7 separate regions of the Homo sapiens genome follow, and all the other regions are linked to region 3. Evidence: promoter capture Hi-C in 16 types of primary human blood cells and fetal thymus (Javierre and others, 2016). All regions are on one chromosome and are shown on one strand. The core of a region is centred on a gene start or on the middle of the fragment in contact, and the rest is flanking DNA. Distances in the headings are between cores, read along the strand shown.

What was found. Contacts are between HindIII fragments. The CHiCAGO score rates a contact against its expected background, and 5 or more counts as called.
Region 1: a fragment that was not itself captured here is called in contact with the fragment with the promoter of STX7 in region 3 in 1 of 17 cell types (naive CD8 T cells); the score reaches 5.7 in naive CD8 T cells.
Region 2: a fragment that was not itself captured here is called in contact with the fragment with the promoter of STX7 in region 3 in 2 of 17 cell types (naive CD8 T cells and non-activated CD4 T cells); the score reaches 5.8 in naive CD8 T cells.
Region 4: a fragment that was not itself captured here is called in contact with the fragment with the promoter of STX7 in region 3 in 7 of 17 cell types (naive CD8 T cells, naive B cells, activated CD4 T cells and 4 more); the score reaches 7.2 in naive CD8 T cells.
Region 5: a fragment that was not itself captured here is called in contact with the fragment with the promoter of STX7 in region 3 in 2 of 17 cell types (naive CD4 T cells and naive CD8 T cells); the score reaches 6.8 in naive CD4 T cells.
Region 6: a contact is called between a fragment that was not itself captured here and the fragment with the promoter of STX7 in region 3, in 5 of 17 cell types (M0 macrophages, naive CD8 T cells, total CD4 T cells and 2 more). The highest score is 8.1, in M0 macrophages.
Region 7: a contact is called between a fragment that was not itself captured here and the fragment with the promoter of STX7 in region 3, in 2 of 17 cell types (total CD4 T cells and total CD8 T cells). The highest score is 6.2, in total CD4 T cells.

The regions. Positions count from the first base shown.
Region 1 is chr6:134,055,275-134,058,327 of GRCh38, forward strand. No RefSeq gene overlaps it. Among named protein-coding and RNA genes, the nearest start is that of SLC2A12, 4.2 kb to the left of the region's middle. The HindIII fragment of the contact is 1,981 bases long and covers 292-2,272 here.
Region 2 is chr6:134,085,799-134,089,112 of GRCh38, forward strand. It overlaps LOC124901404 (a long non-coding RNA gene), which reads left to right. Exons shown (of 3, transcript XR_007059774.1): 2 at 1-213. Among named protein-coding and RNA genes, the nearest start is that of SLC2A12, 35 kb to the left of the region's middle. The HindIII fragment of the contact is 7,307 bases long and covers 1-3,314 here.
Region 3 is chr6:132,511,451-132,514,601 of GRCh38, forward strand. STX7 (syntaxin 7) reads right to left here and starts at 1,666. Exons shown (of 10, transcript NM_003569.3): 1 at 1,557-1,666. RefSeq lists enhancers at 914-1,415, 1,773-1,972 and a silencer at 1,133-1,622. The HindIII fragment of the contact is 4,830 bases long and covers 1-3,151 here.
Region 4 is chr6:133,962,511-133,965,769 of GRCh38, forward strand. The region is part of intron 1 of TBPL1 (TATA-box binding protein like 1); the gene reads left to right. The region is part of intron 1 of LOC128092253 (umcharacterized LOC128092253); the gene reads left to right. Among named protein-coding and RNA genes, the nearest start is that of TBPL1, 11 kb to the left of the region's middle. RefSeq lists enhancers at 375-544, 2,163-2,332. The HindIII fragment of the contact is 2,807 bases long and covers 433-3,239 here.
Region 5 is chr6:133,981,679-133,984,941 of GRCh38, forward strand. TBPL1 (TATA-box binding protein like 1) reads left to right here. Exons shown (of 7, transcript NM_004865.4): 3 at 890-972; 4 at 1,139-1,202; 5 at 2,698-2,801; 6 at 2,899-2,993. Among named protein-coding and RNA genes, the nearest start is that of TBPL1, 30 kb to the left of the region's middle. RefSeq lists an enhancer at 1,787-1,956. The HindIII fragment of the contact is 1,639 bases long and covers 903-2,541 here.
Region 6 is chr6:134,102,196-134,105,182 of GRCh38, forward strand. The region is part of intron 2 of LOC124901404 (a long non-coding RNA gene); the gene reads left to right. Among named protein-coding and RNA genes, the nearest start is that of SLC2A12, 51 kb to the left of the region's middle. The HindIII fragment of the contact is 1,058 bases long and covers 775-1,832 here.
Region 7 is chr6:134,122,890-134,125,806 of GRCh38, forward strand. No RefSeq gene overlaps it. Among named protein-coding and RNA genes, the nearest start is that of SLC2A12, 72 kb to the left of the region's middle. The HindIII fragment of the contact is 271 bases long and covers 1,376-1,646 here.

The DNA of each region.
Region 1 (3,053 bases), core at 32-2,531, 1.5 Mb after region 3:
CAGGCTATCCATCTTCCCTGGAGTTTGAGCCACTTCCATTATTAAAATCTGTTCCTCCACTCAAGGAATTCATAATCAGCAGACAGCAGACAGTTCATTCTTCATAACCCCAATAATTTTGCTACATACCACTTTGGACCACTGCTCATAGGCAATGCTACCAAATCCAAAAACACCTATCCTGACTTATAAACTGGCACAGCGGGGAAGAGGGGATGAAAGACAAGCAGCTTCACAGGGCTCGTAAACATCTACCATAGAGCATGCCTATTTTCATGGCAATTTTTTAAAAGCTTCACAAAAACCTTGTGAAGTAAATACCGTTACTTCCATTTTGCAGAAACTGAAACCGAGAAGTTTATGAAACATTTCTAAGATCAAAACATTTTCCAATGTTGAATTATAAAAATTTGAATCCCACAGGAAAACCTACACTCGACATTTTACCATGCTTGCTCATTCACATCTATATATAACAATTCTTCCATCCATCAGTCGATCCGTATTAGTTTTTATACATATCAAAGTAAGTTGAAATACTTCAGAATGCATATTATTAAATAGAGTTCAATACTAGGTTCTTTTTTTCAAGACAAAAAAGCTCCAGAAGCAACCAATTTTCTGATATTTTTCCACATAGATTACCTTTGCTTGTTCTAAACCTTAATTCATATAATGGAACCACAGAGAATGCAGCCTTGTGTAAGGAGTCTTTCACTGAGCATAGTTTTGATATCCATCCATGTTTTTATGTATATTAGTAGTTCATTTTGTTTATTGCTGAATAGTGTTATATGGGTGAATACACCACAGTTTATCCATTTTCCTATTGATGGACATCTGGGCTGTTTCCAATTCTTTGCTATTACACATAAAACTGTTATGAGCACTCTTGCACAAGTCTTTTTATGCAGAACATAACATTTCAGAGCACAGCAGTTCAAGTCCATTTGATTCCAAAACCCAAATGCTTTTCACTACACCGTATTGTTTCCCTGCAGTGCACCCTGCAGTGCACATTGATGTGGAATGCACCTTCTACAATGGTTCATTACAGTGTAAACACAAATGGGAAAATATGGTCTTTATGCAAACAAAAAAATTCCAAATACAAATTCACTTCTTGTTTAGCCTAATTGCAATAAAATATTCATCTTGGTATGATTGTTTGGAAGGATGTTTATTATTTCACTGTTTATACTATCTAAATAACTTCTCTATCTGAAAGTTTTCATTATGACTTCTTTCCTTAGGTGTAGAATATTATCACTCATAACATGTTGATTAAAGTTCCTCAAATTACAAAGTAAGTGTGGTTAAATTTATTATGGTATGTTCACTTGCTATAACATGTGATAAATCATTAAAAGAAAGACAATGTAGCAATGCAAGAAAATGTTTTTCCAATTATTTTAAGTGGGAGAATCAAAGTGGCATACAGAAAGTTGCATACTCATTACTATTACAATACTTTCTTAAAATATATGCGCCTATTGGTAGAGACTGGAAGGAAACTTGGAACAACTGAAAATAACTAATAGGTTGAGGTGGTAAATCATGTGTAAAAAGTACTGTCTTAAAAGTTGTTTGCTTAATGCTTCTATCAGATTGTATATATAATAAATATAAATTTGAAGAAAACTTCTTCATACTTAGGGCTGCCATATACCATTGTGCAATTTGGACACAGTACAACTCTAAGTGGGTCATTCTCATTTGCAGACAGCAGAAGTTTGCTTATTTATAAAGCAAATCTTCCAGAATATGACAATACTAACCTGAAGAAAGGGCAGCTTTTTCTAATTTGCTCAAAGGTACATTTGGGCAACTGATGGGGCTGTTCAAATTATCATCTCCCTTTAAATCACACCAATGTCATATCTATTAGTTTGGCCCATGTCTGTCTTTGTACTGCCCAGCTACGTGGAATGAGCACTGTTCTTCCTTTGATTAGCTATTTTTCCAAATAAAGTATTTTTAACTTAAAAATCTCTCTCAGTCCGATTGCCATGACCCTTGGATGGAGGGCATTAACAAAAAGCTGTTCAATGATTAAACCTTTCCTTGAGATTAACCTGCCTTTGATACCATGAAGTCAGAAAAAGTTGCTTGATCATACATGACAACAAGCAGTAGTTATTGGGTTGGGAACTCTGGTCTGCTTTCATTACATGTCCCTTGTTTGCCAGACAATAAGGAGGGCACTGCACAGAAAATGACTACTTTCCAAGTTTAAATAATCTGAATAACTCAGGGAAAATCTGGAGCAGAAAGCTTACTGAAATGCGAAACCTTGTGCTCAGCTTCTGAAGATGAACTCATTATATTTCAGCTCAGGTGGACATGTTAGAGCTTGTCACGGGCTTTTATTTTCTTCTAGGCTGCCCAGGATCAGAAGATCCTTCCTGTGTTGGGAATCCCCCTCTGCAAGGAAGAACCTGTCTCCTAAACAGAAGCTGGAAAGGCCTGATACTCCCTTTTCTCTTAGGACCAGGCTCTGCCAAGCAGTTCATGCACCCTGGATTTTGCATCAGAAGCTGTAGCACAAAGTAGCAGGATCTACAGGCCCCACCTTCCAGTGAGGATGGTGGCAGTGGCTCTGGCCAAAATATTTAATGTCAGAGTTGCTAGATATACACTGTTAGGTATGTGCTCAGGGGTGGCTAGATTAGCTCAAAGCAGGATTTGGGGAGTTATTCTTGACTACAGTTTCCAAGTTGGAGTTGGTTTCTGTTGCTTTAAACCAAGAACTAGGAATGACACCAGACTCAACTAGATAAGTCCTTTTTCATGTGTGCAGAAGCAGATTAATCAGGAAGCTAATGAAGTTTAAGCTGCAGGGCCCCTCACCCACACCAGCCCTTCCAAGACCCTGGGAGGCACCCAGCAATGCATTTATATAATGATATGTTTTGTAAAATTTGCTAAAATGAAATAACTGCAATCAGTTAAGACCACTAATGCTTTGCACCTGGCCAGCAACATCTTGTTTCCTTTGTGTCATGTGACATAAGGGTGGCCATGGAATATTTGGGATCTGACTTAAGATCAGT
Region 2 (3,314 bases), core at 324-2,823, 1.6 Mb after region 3:
GGATGCTTCATACCCTCGATCACTGGACTCCAGGTTCTTCAGCTTTTGGACTCTTGGACCTACACCAGTGGTTTGCCAGGGGCTCTCGGGCCTTTGCCACAGACTGAAGGCTGCACTGTTAGCTTCCCTGCTTTTGAGATTTGGGGACTCGGACTGGCTTCTCTGCTCCTCAGCTTGCAGACGGCCTATTGTGGAACTTCACCTCGTGACTGTGTGAGTTGATACTCCTTAATAAACTCTCTTTCGTATATACATCTATCCTATCAGTCCTGTCCCTCTAGAGAACCCTGACTAATACAGGCTAGGAGTTCAAGACCAGTCTGGCCAACACAATGAGACCCCATCTCTACAAAAAATTAAAAAAATTAGGAGGGCATGGTGGTGCATGCCTGTAGTCCCAGCTACTCTGGAGGCTGAGGTGGGAGGATCACTTGAGCCCAGAAGTTCAAGGTTTACAGTGAACTCTGATTGTCCCACTGCACTCCAGCCTGGGCAACAGAGCAAGACCCTGTTTCTAAAAAAAAGGAATATAAATGAGAATAATAATAATCTTTATTAGTTTGTGGTTCAAAATCTTTTTCCTTTAGAGTTTTCGAAATAAGCAAGGTATGGGGACTGCAATAGATCATTTAAAGATCTTGAAGGAGATTATGGGGTTTTTGTTATTCTGTCAGATTAATATTCCTGATATGGTTTAGCTGTGTCCCTGCCCAAATCTCATCTTGAATTGTAGCTCCCATAATTCCCAAATGTTGTGGAAGGGATGCGGTAGGGGGTAATTGTATCATGGGAGCAGGTATTTCCCATACTTTTCTCATGATAGTGAATAAGTCTCATGAGAACTGATGGTTTTATAAAAGGGAGGTCCCTGGCACATGTCCTCTTGCCTGCCACCATTAAGACATGACTTTGCTCCTCATTCGCCTTCTGCCATGATTGTGAGGCTTCCCCAGCCACGTGGAACTGTGAGTCCATTAAACCTCTTTCCTTTATAAATTACCCAGTCTTGGGTATGTCTTTATTAGCAGTGTGAGAACACACTAATACACAGCCTTCTTAGAAATATGGTATTTTGGCCATCCAGTTATTTAAAGACTACTTTAAATCTGACAAGTGTTGAATCAACATATATGAATTTATTTTTCTGTTCAATAACTTTAAAAATTTTTGTATGAAGAGAAAAGAGTGATGTATCTTAGCCTTTTTTGTTTTTAACATTTTACTTTTCTCATTTTGAACCCAGTTTACTTGAGGTTAGAATTTTTTTCTCCATGTGATAGAATAGATGTGGGTGAAAAGATTATCAATTTTTACGTTGTTCGTATAACCGCTATATAGTTCAAGGAAAGGTCCTATCTTTTCCCTTCCTATCCTGCCCTCTAGCTCCCTCAATGAACAGCTACCCTTTCTAAGTAAATTTAAATTATTAGTAGTGGTTATGAATTTGATCTACAGTACTTATATGTGCAAACGATTGTATTATTTATTCTAAATTACATACATCAGTCATGTTTTGGGAGTGTCATTAGGGATCTGAGGACTTACATGATGCCCCCCAAACACATAAAAGGCATCTTGTCTTCACTATATCATTGCTGGGGTTGAGACACCCATCTGGCATATTTCCACTGCTGAGAACTATGCCTAGCACATCTCGGGCAGTCAATTCATATTTGTTGAATAAATAAATGAATGCTTGAATGGTTTATTCAAAGTGGGCAGGAAGAATTGTTACCTCAGTGTCCAAGGCCATGATCCTTAGTTGTTGGTGTCTGAAGGGGTCAATACATGGCACTTCCTTTTCTCTGCTACTTGAGTTAAGGACCCATTGAGAGACAGGTGCGGGAACAGTGCAGGTAGAGATCAAAATATCACTTTAGATACTGAGAAAACTAGGCTGGGGAGGATGACTGAATGGTTTGCTAATACCAAACCCCAGAGATAGACTGGTTCACCTGCCCAGCCAAGGCTGCAACTGCAGTCCTTGTTCCTTAGGGCAGAGCCTGGAGAATTGATAGCAGAAGAGATCAAGGAAGAATGGAATAGACCTGGGATGTGCAGACCTGGTTCCTTCCGCCAACCTATTCATCAGAGCAGTGGCTTCTCCTTGCCTGGGAGGACCAACAGTTATGGGTGGAGAGAGATTAGGTGTTTGACTCATGGAGTTCCCTCCATGTGGGAGGAAACATCAGGAAACACTCCCCTTGACATAAGTACACTCCCCTTGACATTAGTATTAATACTCATTATTAGTATTCAGTTCCTTTATCAGTTACGAGCCACCTCATAAGGAAGGTCTTAGGTCCTCTTGGGGCACAAGGACCCACTCAGCATGAACCCCCTAAATGCCAGTTTCTCCTCAGGTTCTGGAACCAATACTCCTGCATCCTTGTCTGGTCAGTTCTGGCTCCTCCACCCACAGTACAGGCCTCCCTTGATGGTCCTCTATTCCTGGAACAAAAGCCAAGCTGGAGGATTGGTGAGGCAGGGAAGGGCTTACTCTGAGCATGTTCCACCTTCTGTTTTTAGTTCAACAATAAAAATATCCTGACGTCAGGGAGCACAGAGTCAGAATCTAATTTCTTAGGGTGTGAAAGGAGGAAAAAACAATCCCATTCTTCAGGTTCCCTACAAAATTTTTTTAAAATGCGAATAAATATTCCAATAATTTATTCTGCTCCCCAGGATAAAATAGCATTTGTAATTTAAATAATAGGCATTTTGGTGGTTTGGTTTAAAATTCAGCATTGATAATGGAGAGGAAATACAGCATACAGTTTAACTCGTCCTTCCCCTCATGCTTCATTGAAGACTTAGCGCAGGAACTCAATAATTATATGTTGACAGAAAGAAGTCTTGGAAGGATGGGACTCTGGCCAATTACAAAACAGTCAATTCTTAATGTTCCCCCTGCAAGTGGGACTTCTGGTGGTACAGGCAGCTGCCTGCTGAAAGATCTGTTTGGCTCACTATGGCTTTCAAAACAGTTCTGCTACCAGAAAGGCCAGCATCAAAATATAACGATAAATATAACCATGGACAGGCTTTCTCTCTGGATGTGGTTGAGGAAACATCCCTCAGATACTGTTTGCCACAATCTTATGAGCATGAGGGAGAGCCAGATTTATGTGATTAGAACAATGAGAGGAGGCAGATATGCTGGGTCTTTAATAACATCTTTAAAAACTTACAAATCAAACCAATCCTATCTGACCTCTGAAATTTTGAGTGACATGAGCTTACAAAATATCTTTATTATTTGAGCTTAAAAGTCAACAGATAGAAACACTTAGAAAGGAACAGTAACATCTTGA
Region 3 (3,151 bases), core at 416-2,915:
TACTGCTTCACAATACTCAAAAGTCGAATTAATCACTGTTTATTATTTATCCCTACACCTCTGGAATACAAACAGGAGCTACTTCTGGAATATAAACAGGAGAGAGATGACCTTGTCATCCTGTGTAATCTACAGTGCCTGGTGCATAGTAAATGCTCAAGGAATGTGAGGGTGCTCTGTCTACATAAGTATCCTCTGCAAAAACTACATTAACTGTATTCTTTGGCCTTAGCTCTTTCATCACTGACCTTTTGTACTACTTGGTTTTAGTTCACAATACCGAGGATTGTTTTTTTCATACTTTCACACATGAAACTTGCAAATTAAATGGAATCACAGCAAACTTCACTCAGACTTACTGTGAATATTTTCTATAATTTACTTTTCAATCATCAGCACTTAAAGTTTGGGGTCATAACCAAAATAAGGATTGATTTTGTTATCAAGAGCAACATAAGTAACATATCTGAGGAAAAATTATGATGTTAATCAGTTAATATGGTATCATATTAACCTCTACAGAAACTGTGAAGTTAAGAGCATAATTCTTAACTAGTCACGAGTCTGAGGCCAACTTCTCAAAGTAGCCTATAAGGCCTGTCCACAACACAAAACACAGTTTAACACCGTTATCAGCCTCTGCCCAGGTGTGCTCAGAGAACCTGCAGAAGAAATGTCCACTTCCAACATTATTAAATAGCACAGCATTTCATAATTACTTTCTTTTCTTCCAGATTCTGGGCAAGTTTTATATATTATATATAATTATAGTCAGAATACAACGATCTGAGGTAAACAAAAATTAACGTATACAGATAAGAGCCAAACAAATGTAAGAAATTTGTGGGAAAAAACACACAGCATTTGATCAGAAATGCAACTTTTTTTCTTTGTCTGAATTTAAAGAAAGTAACTAGAAAACAAGGTGGAGGAAATACTAGAAATATTTTATGTACGTTTAAAGGTTTTTATGTAAATTAATTAAAGGTGTATACTCAAAGAATGTCAAAGTATGTTAAAGTCATCAAGCCAAATTAAAAAAACAATACTACGATCCTCTGAATAAATAAACATACACGGTTCGCCTGCTACAGCCATACATTTTTCAGTTCCTCTATATTCGGGAAGTTTAGTGTGTTTTTCAATCCGTGAGTTGAAAAGAGGAAGAGGTCATTTGGTCGTGTCTGGATTCCTGAGCTGGGCCCCAGCCGGCTCTGGCGCCCTCCCCGGGGTGCGCTCCGCCAGCCGTGCGCCTCCGGAGCTCTGCCCAGGGGACCGCGGCGGGTGCGTGGCTGGGTAGGCCCACCTGACCACAGCCGCGCGCACCCGGAATGCGGAACGCGCCGCGCCCTTGCACCCGGCCGGGGGGCGTGGGGAGCCGCAGGCGCTCCGGGAGCTGGGGCAGTCCCGCCCTTCCTAGCCTCCCGAGTGCCTGCTGCAGAGCGCAGGGCGGCGGCCACCTGACCACGCGCACAAACAAGAAGGCGCAGCAGCCGCAGGGGCACCGCGCCTCCCTGTCGCCCGGCCAGGGAGCCCCCTCCCCAGGGTCCTCTTACCTGGACCTCCACGGCTCCCTCCTACACCTCCGACCGCCGTCACCCACCTACCCCGGAGCCCTCAGCTGCAATTCTCAGCTGATGGGCGGTGGCGTGGGGACGCCCAGTGCGCATGCCCGCAGCACAACTCAGGAAGAAGGCGGGGTTCACCCCTTTTCTATTGGCCCGCGGGGCTGAGTGACAGCGGCCCTCACCGCCCCTCCGGTTCCAAGCTAAGGAATGGGGGTATCAGCAAAATTGCAAGGGAGCTGTTCTTTGAAGCCTGACGTAGAGATGGTGAACGCCTCTTAGCCTGCGTGCAAAAAAGGACAGAATGGAGGACAGTTGTCTTCTTTATCTGGTGAAGCCAGCCTTCTTGCACGCGGGTCTTCACCCCGCCCCATTAGCTCTTGCCTGTCTTGTTTGCTAACCTTTAACTGCAGTAGATCGCGTTGACAGCTCTATCGAAAAATGCAAAGGCGAGTACACAATCCTAGCAGGAACAATGAAGGAATAAGTGAAGAGTCATCTCTGGGTGCTCACTTGTAAACAAGTTTTCCTAGTACATACAAGTCATTCTAAGCATTCCTGAAAAGCAGGGCGTAGTTTTCACAGGGTTTAAAACAAGCAGAGACAGTTCCAATGATAAATATGCAAATATATTGTAATTGTTAGATGAAAAGCATCAATTGCTACAAATGAAAGAAAGCCCTCTCCAAATTAATTAGAAGATAGATTGGCTTAGCCTTTGCCTATATTAAGGCAACACTATTTTCTAAAATGATTACCCGGATAGGTGATATCAAAAGTCCAGACGCACTTAGGTGGAAAAAAACAAAACCCAGGATAGAATTCTGATTGGAACTCACCAACACTAAGTGTGGAATGTTGTCTGCTTAAGAGAGATGGACAGAGAAAGAATAACCCTGAAAACGAGTAACCCACAAGATAGGAAATAAACCAGGAAAAGGTAAACTAGAGAATGAAGGAAAAAAGGAGGGAATTGTCCATGATGTCACCTGTTACACAAAGTTCAAGTAAATAAAGAACTGAAAGTAGTGCATTGTACTTGAGAATTAGGAAGTGGCTGGTGAACGTAGGAAGAAACATTTCAATCATTGAAGGAACACATGAAAGGATCTTACATCCATGTGAGGTTTAGTGCACTTTCCAAATACCCATTCATATTACCTTTGATAGAACTCTGGGCTCCGGGGAGGGAAGGTACAATGCACTACAGAAGAACCTGAGATTAAGTGGCCTCTTCAAGTTACCCTGATAGTTACTGACTATGCTGGGCCCAAAACTTAGCTGTCTGAGCCCTCATCTTGGGCTCATTCCAATTCCTTGTTTTAAAATATGTTATGAGTGGATTCCTTCCAGGTCTTTTGAAAACTTAGAATAAGATTTCATCCTTTGGTATTCAAATGGGAAAAAAAAGAATTATAGTCTAGACAAACTTGCAAAATTTAGAAGTATTAAGATAAATGAATTACTAAGAGTTCCTGACACAGTATTCCATCTGTGAATCTGGCTGCTACCAAGTTAAATTCAGCCAGGTGTCTTGAAAGTGGTAGGGCTTTAAAAGTCTCCTAATTTGATGAGTGATAATGTCA
Region 4 (3,259 bases), core at 586-3,085, 1.5 Mb after region 3:
CACTCCATTCACAGAATTACAAGGAGATAGAGCAAGATTTCTTGAGGTGCTTAATGAGTTTTGTTTGTATGTGTCGATTTTAATAGATATGCCTAATAGATGATTGGGAATATGGATTCAGATATCTGATAGGTCAGGATAGATGTAGGAGCCAGCCATAAGCTCATAGATAGCAACTGAGGCCTGAAAAGTTTAAAGAGGAAAAGGATTTCAGGCAGTGGTTTATAACCTTTAGGGATCTTAAACCTATTGGTAATATGAAAAAAACAATGGCCTTCTCAGGTACAGATTAGTGTGTATACAATTTCAGGGGGTTCCTAACCTGTGGAACCTATTGTTGAGCTTTTCAGGGTCTGGCATGGATTTCAGTTAAGAACTTCTGATTTAAGGAACAGACAGAGAAGTATATGAGATGGGGAGAGAATTCAAGAAAGCTTCTTCAGAATCCAGGGATAGGACATGGCAAGGGAGCAGTTGGAGAATCAGAAGTTCCCAGTGCTTTATGCTCTAGAGTAGGAGGGAGTTTAAAGTGTGCCATTGAATTCAGCAATGAGCCATTCATTTGTAACATTTTGTACTGTGTAGAGGCAGAAGACAGATTATGCTGGTTTAAAAGCATGAAGTGGAGTTTGGGAAACAAGGGATGGTAAACAGAATGTAGAAGTCTTGATGTTCTCTGAAAAACAGTACTGATAGAAGAATAGAGCCCTTTTTAAGGATTTATGGAGAGGGAAATTCCATTATTTTAATTACCCTATGATGGTGTTTCAACCCAGTCGTTCTCAACTGACTACCCATTAGAAACATCTTGGAAATATTTTCAAAATTAGGGCCCTATCAAGGTCAATTAAATCTGTATTTGTGGGATTTGAGCATCTTCATAGTTATTATCTTGTTTCTGTTGTTTTGTCTTTTGGTCTTTTTATTTGTTTAAGACATAGTCTCACTCTATAGCCCAGACTGGAGTGCAGTGGTGTGATCATAACTCACTGCAGCCTTGACCTCCCAGGCTCAATCCTCTTGCCTCAGCCTCCTGAGTAGCTGGGCCTATAGGCACACACCACCACATCTGGCTAATTTTTGTATTTTTTTGTCGAGACAGAGTCTCACCATGTTGCTCAGTCTGGTCTGTAACTCCTGGCTCAAGCAACCTGCCCACCTTGGCCTCCCAAAGTGCTGGGATTACAGGCATGAGTCCACCAGGCCTGTCCTTGTCTTTTTCTTGATCGTTAAGAACCGGCCTGGCGCGGTGGCTCACGCCTGTAATCCCAGCACTTTGGGAGGCTGAGGCGGGCGGATCACAAGGTCAGGAGATCGAGACCATCCTGGCTAACGTGGTGAAACGCCGTCTCTACTAAAAATACAAAAAAAAAAAAAAAAATTAGCCAGGCGTGGTGGCGGGCGCCTGTAGTCGCAGCTACTCGGGAGGCTGAGGCGGGAGAATGGTGGGAACCTGGGAGGCGGAGGTTGCAATGAGCCGAGATCGTGACACTGCACTCCAGCCTGGGCGACAGAGCAAGACTGCGTCTCAAAAAAAAGAACCAATGTTCCAATCAGAAAACTTCCTTATCACTCTTGTGTGTTCTGTGTAAGAACCCATTCTTTTACTTGTATATTATCATTAAATTACTCACCCTACTGTTGTGGTAGTGTTCTTGACTTTCTCACAGACCATAATTTCAGGTTTTAAAAATGTATGGCTTTCTTCTGATCTCTAGCCAAGTTCTCTGTGTTTATCCTTTTTGAGTGACGCACCCTTCAACCAGTTACTCAGATCTGACAAGCTCTGAGTAAAATAAGAAATTCCTAATGGTGCTTACATGTGGAAAGAGTGTTCATTATGTAATCATGTTTGTTTTAAGTATATTTTGTACTGTTTTTTAAACCAGAAATGTTTGAACTGTTTGTTTTTTTTGTTTTGTTTTGTTTTTTTGGGTTTTTTGGGTTTTTTTTTTTTTGAGATGGAGTCTCACTCTGTCTCCCAGGCTGGAGTGCAGTGGCACCATCTTGGCTCACTGCAAGCTCCGTCTCCCGGGTTCACGCCATTCTCCTGCCTCAGCCTCCGAGTAGCTGGGACTACAGGTGCCTGCCACCACTCCAGGCTAATTTTTGTATTTTTAGTAGAGATGGGGTTTTACCGTGTTAGCCAGGATGGTCTCGATCTCCTGACCTCGTGATCCACCCGCCTCAGCTTCCCAAAGTGCTGGGATTACAGGTGTGAGCCACCATGCCCGGCCGAACTCTGTTTTATTTTCCCAAGTAACTAATTTCATAATCTGACCTTCCTTTTCTTAAAATGGCATTTGTGCATGACATAGACCTTAAACAGGTTGTCTATGCTAGAGCATTTTATATGAGGGGTAACTCTATAAAAACAGTCGAAACTATGAAAATAGGAAGTTTCACCCGTTGTATTTTCCCCATGCAGTACTTTCTCTTGATTAAATTCTTGATGAGTTATCAGTGCTTCAAGTTTGAGCCCTGCATTCACACCCTTGAAATAAATCAGAATATAGAGAGGCTTGATCTTGATGCATGCCAATTCTGACACCAACTTATGAGAAGATTTATTCAGTCTTTTAGCTACCCTAGTGAATTAACATTTACACTTGTAAATGAAACTAATAATCTTTTAAAAATTATGCTGTTTTGTTAGCATTAATTTAATGGCTAAATTAGTCTTACAAATTATAGTCACTTACAGTAGCTTAGGACAAATATCAAACTTCTCAGTAAAGAGATGAAACTTTTTAGCTTTTAAAATTATAGTCCGTAATATGGGAAGTAGGGGCACATATAAGACCTGCTCAAGAAAACAAATACCTTACAATTTAAATGAAATGAACATCATAAACTTGTATCACAATTTAATATCCAAACCCATTATGCTTCTAATTTTCCTGCTTTTTTGCAGGTACCTAATGAAGTAAAATCTAGCATAATACCTATTTCGTAACATGTAGTAGATTTGGTCAGTCTTTTCCTGTTTCATTTGCCACCTTCCCTGTCCCCACTCCCCTCAGCACCACCAAAAAAGAACCCCATGATCAACAACTATTTGCTTTGATTTGATGGTTTTGTTATTGTTGGAGTTTTGTGGGTTTTTTTTTTTAATTCACTGTTAAATTTAGTGCTTTTTTCAGTACTCATTTCACTTAACAGATACATCAAAGTTGTATTCTTTATTTTTACCACTTACTTTTAAACTTGAAGGAATATGATTTGCTTTTGTGTTCCAAAGCTTGAGGACTACAGTGAG
Region 5 (3,263 bases), core at 472-2,971, 1.5 Mb after region 3:
TGGCATATGACAGAGAATGAAGAACACAAAATGTAACAAAAATTTTAAGCAGAAACATCTGATTCATTTATGTTAGTCAGTGAGCATTTATGTCTTTCTTACATAGAATGAGCATCTAACAAATATTTCCATTAATGAAAAGTTGGAATGAAAATTTAAATTTGCATATTTTCTTGGAGCTTAGTCCTTGACCTATTTATACACACTCTGTAGTTATTTCATTGTAACCCATAGCTTTAAATGAATTTCCAATTACATCTCCAGCTCCAACATTTCTCCTTTATTCAAGATGCCGATGTTGAACTTGAGTATGTAATAAGCATCTCAACTCTAGGATGCAATATAAAGTAGTGATGGGTACCATGAAGCAGCAGAAAGCAGAATTAGGAATTAGAAAGCAATGAAGGGATGGGTGTTTCAGGGAAATGATTAGGGAGGGCCTCTCTTCAGGAGGTGACATCTGGTAAGAGACCTGAATGAAGTGAGAATATTGAGGGGATAATATTCCAAATGAAAGCAACAGCTACTGCAAAGCTTCTGAAGCATGAACAGATTTGGTGTGTGTGAAGAACCATGCAAGTTCCAGTTATATGACTGGGGTGGAATGAGAGTTGAATTGTTTATATACTTGGAGTACATTGATTTCAAGTATATAGAGTGAGAGATTTCTATACACCTTGTATTTTTAATTAATCAAATGTCTTTTTGGATTAATATGTTCTTTGTGTTTGGTATTGTACTTGATTTCAGAATGGTAGATTTGGAGAGCAGTTATTGCAGTCTTGGATAAGCTTGGAGAGTAGTATTTGGACATTAATATGACTATATAGAACAGAACCTTATGTGAAAAATAATGCTTATGAGGTAATCAGATTTTTTTTCCCCCCAGAAAGTATTAATGAAGCTTAGAAAACCTAGAATTACAGCTACAATTTGGTCCTCAGGAAAAATTATTTGCACTGGAGCAACAAGGTAAATGCTACTTGGGTTTTTTGTTTTTATTTTTTACTTTTTCCCTCATGGAAAGGACATTTTCCTAGACTTAACAGCAAAATCATATGTAAAGTTTGTTATGTTCCTCAGTATAACATTTATTTCCTGTGTAACTGATAATCTTTTTCTTTCCTTAAAACCGTAGTGAAGAAGAAGCTAAATTTGGTGCCAGACGCTTAGCCCGTAGTCTGCAGAAACTAGGTTTTCAGGTAACGTTTTCAAATAGTATCTAAACTACAAATATTCAAGGACTTATTTTTATAGAATTAAAAATTGTAATAGACTCAAGAAATCACTATGCGTACTATTCTTATGATTAAACTTTTTCTAGGTTTTTTAATACTGCCCTTCAGTGTGAAAATTAGTAGCAAAATTTGGCTATGTGGGTATTTGTAAAGGATCCTAGCTTTTTCCCTAATTCCTTTCCCATAAAGAGACTTGTTTCCTCACAAGTTAATTTCCTTTTCAACTCTTTTTTAAGTGTTTTCACCTCTGACGTACACAAACAAAATGGTTTTTGGTCATCTCAAGAATGCCAGGTCAGAATGGTGAATAGAGAATGGCAGAGGCCGTTGACATGGACACACCAGCTGGCAGGCTCTCACACTTGTAACGTGACTGTCACTGGCATGTCAGCCTCATCACTATAACTTGATAGAGGTATACCTTTGAATAAAACGATTACATATTATGGACTTGCTAGGTCACTTGCAAATGATGAATAAATGAAAGATAAAGATGAGAATGGTCCCTGAAGATGAGGGCAAGGCTGTTTGGGATTGAGACAAGTTTGTAGAAGTGGGGATAGGAAGTTACCTTTCCCTCTGATGACTCAGTCTCTCTGAAGTAGAGGGTGATAGGAAGAGACTGAACGGCTGGTGGGGAGTGGGGGTTGGTGCTTGAGAAGGGTGGCAGTAGAGAGAGGCTTGAGTTGTACTGTGATTTGAGAGTGCTGCCACTTTGCGGTTTCCTGGCTTTGCGCAACTGCTGTGTGCAAGGCTGAGTTGAAGGATAGTTCGCTCACCCAAAATTGTGGTTTTAGGAGGAATGTTTGAAAAGATAATGAGATGAAACGAAGATGTTGGTTGGAGTGGCCAAAGTTATTAATGTTAACAGCATTATTTTCAGCCTTGGAACTTCTTTTCTTAGTGTAACATTAGAAGTGTTGAGAGAAATCCCAATTAGTTAGAAACAAATTTATCACTCTATCCCCAGAAAGAAAATAAACATCTAGCTAATCTCACAGAAATGTCATTTTGCCTTATTGCATATGAGAAAAACATCTGACTTTTGGAGCCCAGTGTACACTCTGTATTTACTGACTTTAAAGTGACATCTTTTCCATTTTTACTCTAGCAGGATGACCTGGACTTAAATTTTTTTTCCCTCACTATTCTCTCTCCTTTCTCAGTAGTTTTAAATATTTCACTTAAAGTATTAAAAAATTAAACATATGATTAGAAAGACCCATACTGTTTTGATCATGCAAATACCTCAGTTTTTAATTTTTTTAATGGAGTTTTTGAGCTTTTTAAAAAACTGAATTAAAGCTTTCCATGCTACACAACTTACAGTACTAAACATACACTTAAAATGTTTTTGTTTTATCTTGTTTGCTCTTGTTTTTAAGGATTGCCATTATGAGCAGATTTTTTGTTTGTTTGTTTCAAAATAAATTTATTGAATTTTACTTCTCTCCTAAAGGTAATATTTACAGATTTTAAGGTTGTTAACGTTCTGGCAGTGTGTAACATGCCATTTGAAATCCGTTTGCCAGAATTCACAAAGAACAATAGACCTCATGCCAGGTAAGTCTTTGAAGCAATTTATCTTGAGAAATTACCAAATTTGAAATTACTAGTCAGGGTATAAATATTTATATTAATTGTGGCTTATTTTGTGTAGTTACGAACCTGAACTTCATCCTGCTGTGTGCTATCGGATAAAATCTCTAAGAGCTACATTACAGATTTTTTCAACAGGAAGTATCACAGTAACAGGTATTCTATGATATTGAAACCACACTTATCAATTATGGATTGAATGATACAAGATGCTCATACCAAGATAGAAATAATGTGTGATTTGTTCCTTTCAGTCACTTCTGCCCTTTAGAGGAACCAGTCTCCTGACTTTTAACACTAGATGCATTTTGCCTACTTTTGTACTATTTATAAATGTTACACTTACTATTTTGTGTCTTTTTTCACTCAGCATTATCTTAGTGAGTTTCATCTATATTATATTCTATGTAGCTGTATGTAGATCAT
Region 6 (2,987 bases), core at 54-2,553, 1.6 Mb after region 3:
AGCTCCAGAGCTGTGTGAGAGGAGAAGCTGGGCAGACAGTCAGACAGACCCTATGATGCCTTTATGGGTAGTGAGCAGGCCATAACAAATCCTCACTGTTGCCAAGGAAAGACTTTCCTGAAGTGGAGGCCTTTGCTGCATTTCATTTTCAGGAGAAGCAAACTTGACTTTTATTCCCACCGGGCCCTGTGGTCAAGTTGGAAGTTACCTTGGGCTTTCATCTGCATCTGTTGGCCTCCATGTGGGAGCTCTCTAGAGCAGAAACCCACTTATCTTTGAGATCTGTTTTGGGGTTGTGGAACTATGTTTTAATTTTTATTTATTTTTGTTTTATTTTGTTTTTTATTTTTTTGAGACAGGTTTTCGCTCTGTTACCCAGGCTGAAATGCAGTGGCGGGATTATGGCTCACTGCAGGCTCAAACTCCCAGGCTCGAACAATTCTTCTGCCTCAGCCTCCCAAGCAGCTGGGAGCACAGGTGCATGCCACCACACCCAGCTAATTTTTTGTTTGTTTGTTTTGTAGAGGTGGAGTACCCCTACATTGCCCAGGCTGGTCTTGAACTCCAGGACTCAAGGGATCCTCCCCCTTTGGCCTCCCAAAGTGTTGGGATTACAGGTGTGAGCCACTGCACCCAGCCTGGGTTGTGGAAATAAACAAAGACCAACTAAATGAGAAAAGCAGAAGCTATTTATCCAGAGCTTGCTGTAGCAAGGAAGTCAGCCACCATCACCTATGTTTGGCAGAGACTACAAGGCAGGCAGAGGAGCAGAAAAGCTTCATAGTGAGGGGAAACACAAGGCTTCAGGTGTGCCCTGACTGCAGGCTGTTGGCAGGGGGAAGCTGAAAGTGTCTATTGAGAAGTGGGGCATCCCGTGTGATTGGCTGGGGGCATATAATTGGCTTTCTCAGGTTGGTCCTAAGTTGGAAGTGAGAACAAAAATTAGGGAGGCTGCCAGTTACTAACCAAGTCCTGGACATTTTGTGCCAGTTGTGGCAGAAGTTCTTGTTTAGCTTCCTGGACGGTTACCAGAGGTAGCAAACTGGCTTCCTGGGCTGTTTATTGTAGATAAGGGGGCTGGTTTCCTGGGCACATTGCTGCAGGTTGTGGGTCTGAATTATATTGTTAAATACAGTCTGGCAATTGTACATTAGTAAATTTAGTCTTTCAGGGTAGTGGGAGCGTGAGTTGGGGTAACCACCGAGTGCTGGGTTCTTTCATGACCTTGTGGCTACACCTAAAGCTGTCCACAGAGGCTGGGAACTGCGGGTATCCCTGGCGCACCATTAGGAAAAAAGCTCCAGTCTGTGTACATGTCCCTCTCTCAGCTATTTTGGTTTGTGGCTTCTCTTCACAGAACACTTCATCAATATATGCCCATATGATGTCTATTTCCCAGGAATTCTTTGAAATTTCTGTTTCATTGATGGCACCCTTCTCCAGTTACCATATTCCTATCTCTGGCTGTTATTTTTGTCAGGAGAGGTGCTAAATATTTTTGTTACTGGATAATCTGTAGTGCTTGTTATGTTAGACTAGAAGGAAGGAAAGCAACTTTTCCACCCCTACTGATATTTGTTAGAAAAAAGTAAGGCTCTCAGGAGGCTGAAGTAGGGGAATCACTTGAACCCGAGAGGTGGAGGTTGCAGTGAGCCGAGATCGCGCCACTCCACTCCAGCCTGGTGACAGAGTGAGACTCTGTCTAAAAAAATAATAATAATAAATAAGGCTTAGATTTCTGGGAGATATGTTTTTCTGCACTGTCCTCTAGCTCTAAATAAGCACAAAACTACTCTTAAACTTCTTCGTTTTCTAGGAATTTTGCTGAAGAAAGCTTCACCATTTTGTTTGGAAGATTAGGCACATCAAGGAATTAAGCTGTAGCTGCCATGGATATGGGCATGCGCTTGGAGGAAGGGATGATAATAGTTACAGAAATATGGTGTCATCTTGTATATTTTATGCAAACCAAGTCAACTGACATAAAAGTCTACATTTTAATTGGAGTAATGGGGCACCCAAAGTCATTGGACTATAACAATTTCTTATAAAATTATTATATATATTTCTTTTATAGGAAGGAAATTCATTTTGATAGTTTCAGTTTACTTGCTCCAATAACTTTTTCCTTCAAAAATGGTTACTGGATTGGGCATTCTTGTGACACTATAGACATTATGTCACTTTTGATAAGTTTTAATTTTGAGAAGCCACATTCTCCACTGGTGACCAATTTTGGCTAAGTTACATCTATTCTGTAAAATTAAAAGAAAGTTTTAAAAAATCCATCTAGGAAATTGTCCCTCAAAATTATGCTGCACTCCAATGAGATTTATCATAGGTTTTAGGAAAAGCTTCTGTGTTGGTGCCCATCAATATGGAATTCCTTACTATGGTCAACAGTCAATTTAAATTGTAAATGTGTCATTTGAGTTACATAGTTATAGTAGTTCTGCAGATAACACTGGTCATCTTGCATTGAAGAGACCAGGATGTTCTTTTGATATAGTAACATTTTCTTTTCTTTTTTTTTTTTGAAATGAAGTCTTGCTCTGTTGCCCAGGCTGGAGTGCAATGGCACAATCTTGGCTCACTGCAACCTCCACCTCCCAGGTTCAAGCAATTCTCCTGCCTCAGCCTCCCAAGTAGCTGGGATTACAGGTGCACACCACCCTGCCCAGCTAAGTTTTGTACTTTTAGTAGAGGCAGGGTTTCACCATGTTGGCCAGGCTGGTCTGGAACTCCTGACGTTGTGATCCACCGGCCTCGGCCTCCCAAAGTGCTGGGATTATAGGCGTGAGCCACCACGTCCAGCCACGTTTTCTTTTAAAAATAGTGCTGTTATATCTAACGTAAACAAAGAATTGATATTGACTTTTAGCTTTGGCTCATAGGTGGAACAGACTTTGTGTTGAGAAAAATCATAATAGTTCTAGTATTTTCTATGTAGACAAGTTGGCATTAATATCAATAGACTGCCATTTGGT
Region 7 (2,917 bases), core at 261-2,760, 1.6 Mb after region 3:
GTGTGTAACAGGCCATACCATCAGTCTGTATAAGTGCACTCTATAATGTTCAAACAACTATGAAATCACCTAATGACACATTTCTCAAAACATGTTCCTTTGGTTAAGCGAGACATGACTGTACTAGTTCTATCATCAGTTCCCTGCTCAAAAACATTCAGAGCTCCCCCTGGTCATTAAAAGAAATTCTGGAATCACACCTTTGAATGACTTTCCAGGTGTTACCTTAGTTGCTATATCCTGTCTCTCCCTAAACTCTTATGGCTCTACTATTGATAGTTTTTATTTTAACATTTGGTCATATACCAGCTTTGTATTGCTACTTAATTTATTCTTGGTTGTAGATCTAATTTTTTTTATGATGGAGTTTCACTCTTGTTGTCCAGGCTGGAGTGCAGTGGCATGATCTCAGATTACTGCAACCTCCACTTTCCAGTTTCAAGTGATTCTCCTGCCTCAGCCTCCCGAGCAGCTGGGATTACAGGAGCCTGCCACCATGCCTGGCTAATATTTGTATTTTTAGTAGAAATGGGGTTTCACCATGTTGGCCAGGCTGGTCTCGAACTCCTGACCTCGTGATCCACCCACCTTAGCCTCCCAAAGTGCTGGGATTACAGGTGTTAGCCACTGTACCCAGCCGACAGATCTAATTTTTTTAACAGAATTGAAAGATCCATGGTGATAATGTCCACTTTTTTTCTTCTTAAGCACAGGTGGCTTATACCTGAGCTGAAAGACTAAATTCCTTGAGCATGGGAATTAATCACTTTGTCCACAGAATCTAGGAAAGCATTTGATACCAAATTCCTGCTCAATAAAGTATTGAATTGAATGAATTAGGACAGGTGCTTGGTACGTGAGTTGAATAATTCACCTTTCTTCCAGCAGATGTCGCTAACTTTCAGGCTTAAATTTAAGGCTTTAATAAATAAGGCATTACATTTAAAACTTAGCTTAACTATTAAACTGATATTTATATTTTCAAACTGTAAATTTCTTCCTTGTGTTATTGTAAACTTCTGGAATTCCTTTTGCTATGCTTTTAGGAGTACTTCTTTGGCCAGTCTCCAATGGGTTCATTTCCTTCTGATTTTTTTTCCAAGCAGTGTTTTGCTTGCTGTACTCACAGATGATGAAGGTGGTTGTAATAGCAATGGCTGACAACGTGCTGGATGCAGGGCTAAGCGCTTCATGTGCATTATCTCACTTGAGATTCCTATAGCACCCCTGTGAGGTAGGAACTGTTATCACCCCTATTTTACTGTTGAGCAAACCGGGGAACATGAAGTAACTTAGTCAAAAGTCTCACAGCTTCAAGGTGACAGAATCAGAATTCAAACTTCAGAATTTTAACAATTTCAGCATGTTGTCATTAAGCTTTTTTCTGTTTCATTACACAGTTTTTGTAAACATCATTTTGCTAAACTTTTAACCTGGGTGCCAACGTTTGCTTATCACTAATAATATGTTTTGCAAATTAATAATAAAGTGAATTTTTTTAACATGTTCACTTTCTTCAGTGAAAATCTCAAAGAGTGGGCTTGTGCCCTTCACGTTTTCTGATTAGCATCTCTCATGCGTATTAGATTGGTACATTCTTTTTAACTAGAAAAATGGATGTTTGAACTTAAAAAATTTAAAACCCAAGCTTCTCTCTCACATCTAAACTGTATTCAAAATGCTTGATGAAGTTTTTTTCATCAAAGGCATATCTTTAAAAAGAACTCCTGCAAAACAGCGAGCACAACCCAGCACAGAGAAGTGCTCTGTAAGTGCTACCTATTAAAATTATTACTATCTTCATCTATATGGAAGCAAACAAAAAGATCAGAAAGAAAGCTATCAAGAAGATAAAAGAGATTGTTTAGGGCTATGGTGAACATTTATTATTTTTATCTGACCGACTTTTTTTTTTTTCTTGTACAGATGGGGTCTTGGTATGTTTGCCAAGGCTGGTCTTGAACTCCTGGCCTCAACTGAGCCTCCTGTCTTGGCCTCCTAAAGTTCTGAGATTACAGGCATGTTCCATTGTGCCCAGCCCCACTCAGTGTTTTTTCCTATCTGACTTTGGGAACAGTATTGTTCCTTATTTTGAGGACTTCTCCCATACACTGATTCTATGAGCTTTGGGGCAGCTGCCAATCATGGAATTGTGCTGTCCTGGCCACCCAGGTGGACATGTGATCCAGCCAGGCCAGGCTCAGCACTTCCTCAAGATTAATTGATCTGATATTCGGAGGAAAAAGTCCTTCCTCTCCTTTAAGGAAAATTAAGCAAAAGGAAACTAAATAAATTTTCTAAAAGCAGATATTTGCCAATCCGTGTTGAAAAAAATAGATCTATATTTCACAGCATTTACAAAAATTCCAAACGAATCAAAAGACTTAACAAACCTATTAAAAGAAAACAAAAAGGAGAATATACTTAAGAGTAGACCTTCTAAAACATTATAAAAATGCTAACGCCTTAAAAAATGGTGAATAAATGCCATTTTATCAAATTTCTGAACTTTTACATAACATCATTGCAAATAAGTTTAAAAGACAACTAGAAGACTGGGAGGAAATATTTGTAACATATATAACAATCAATGTTATTTATTTATTTATTTAGAGACAGGGTCTCCCTCTGTCACCCAGGCTGCAGTGCAGCGGTGCAATTATGATTTACTGCAGCCTTGAACTCCAAGGCTCAAGTGATCCTCCTAACCTCAGCCTCTGGAGTAGCTGGGACAACAGGTGTGTGCCACCATATCTGGCTAATTTTTGTAGACATAGGGTCTTGTTATGTTGCTTAGGCTTGTCTCGAACTCCTGGACTCCCACCTTGGCCTCCCAAAGTGCTGAGATTACAGGTGTGAACGACCATGCATGGCAATGGATTAATATCAAAATCAGCAAAGAACTCATAATCCATAA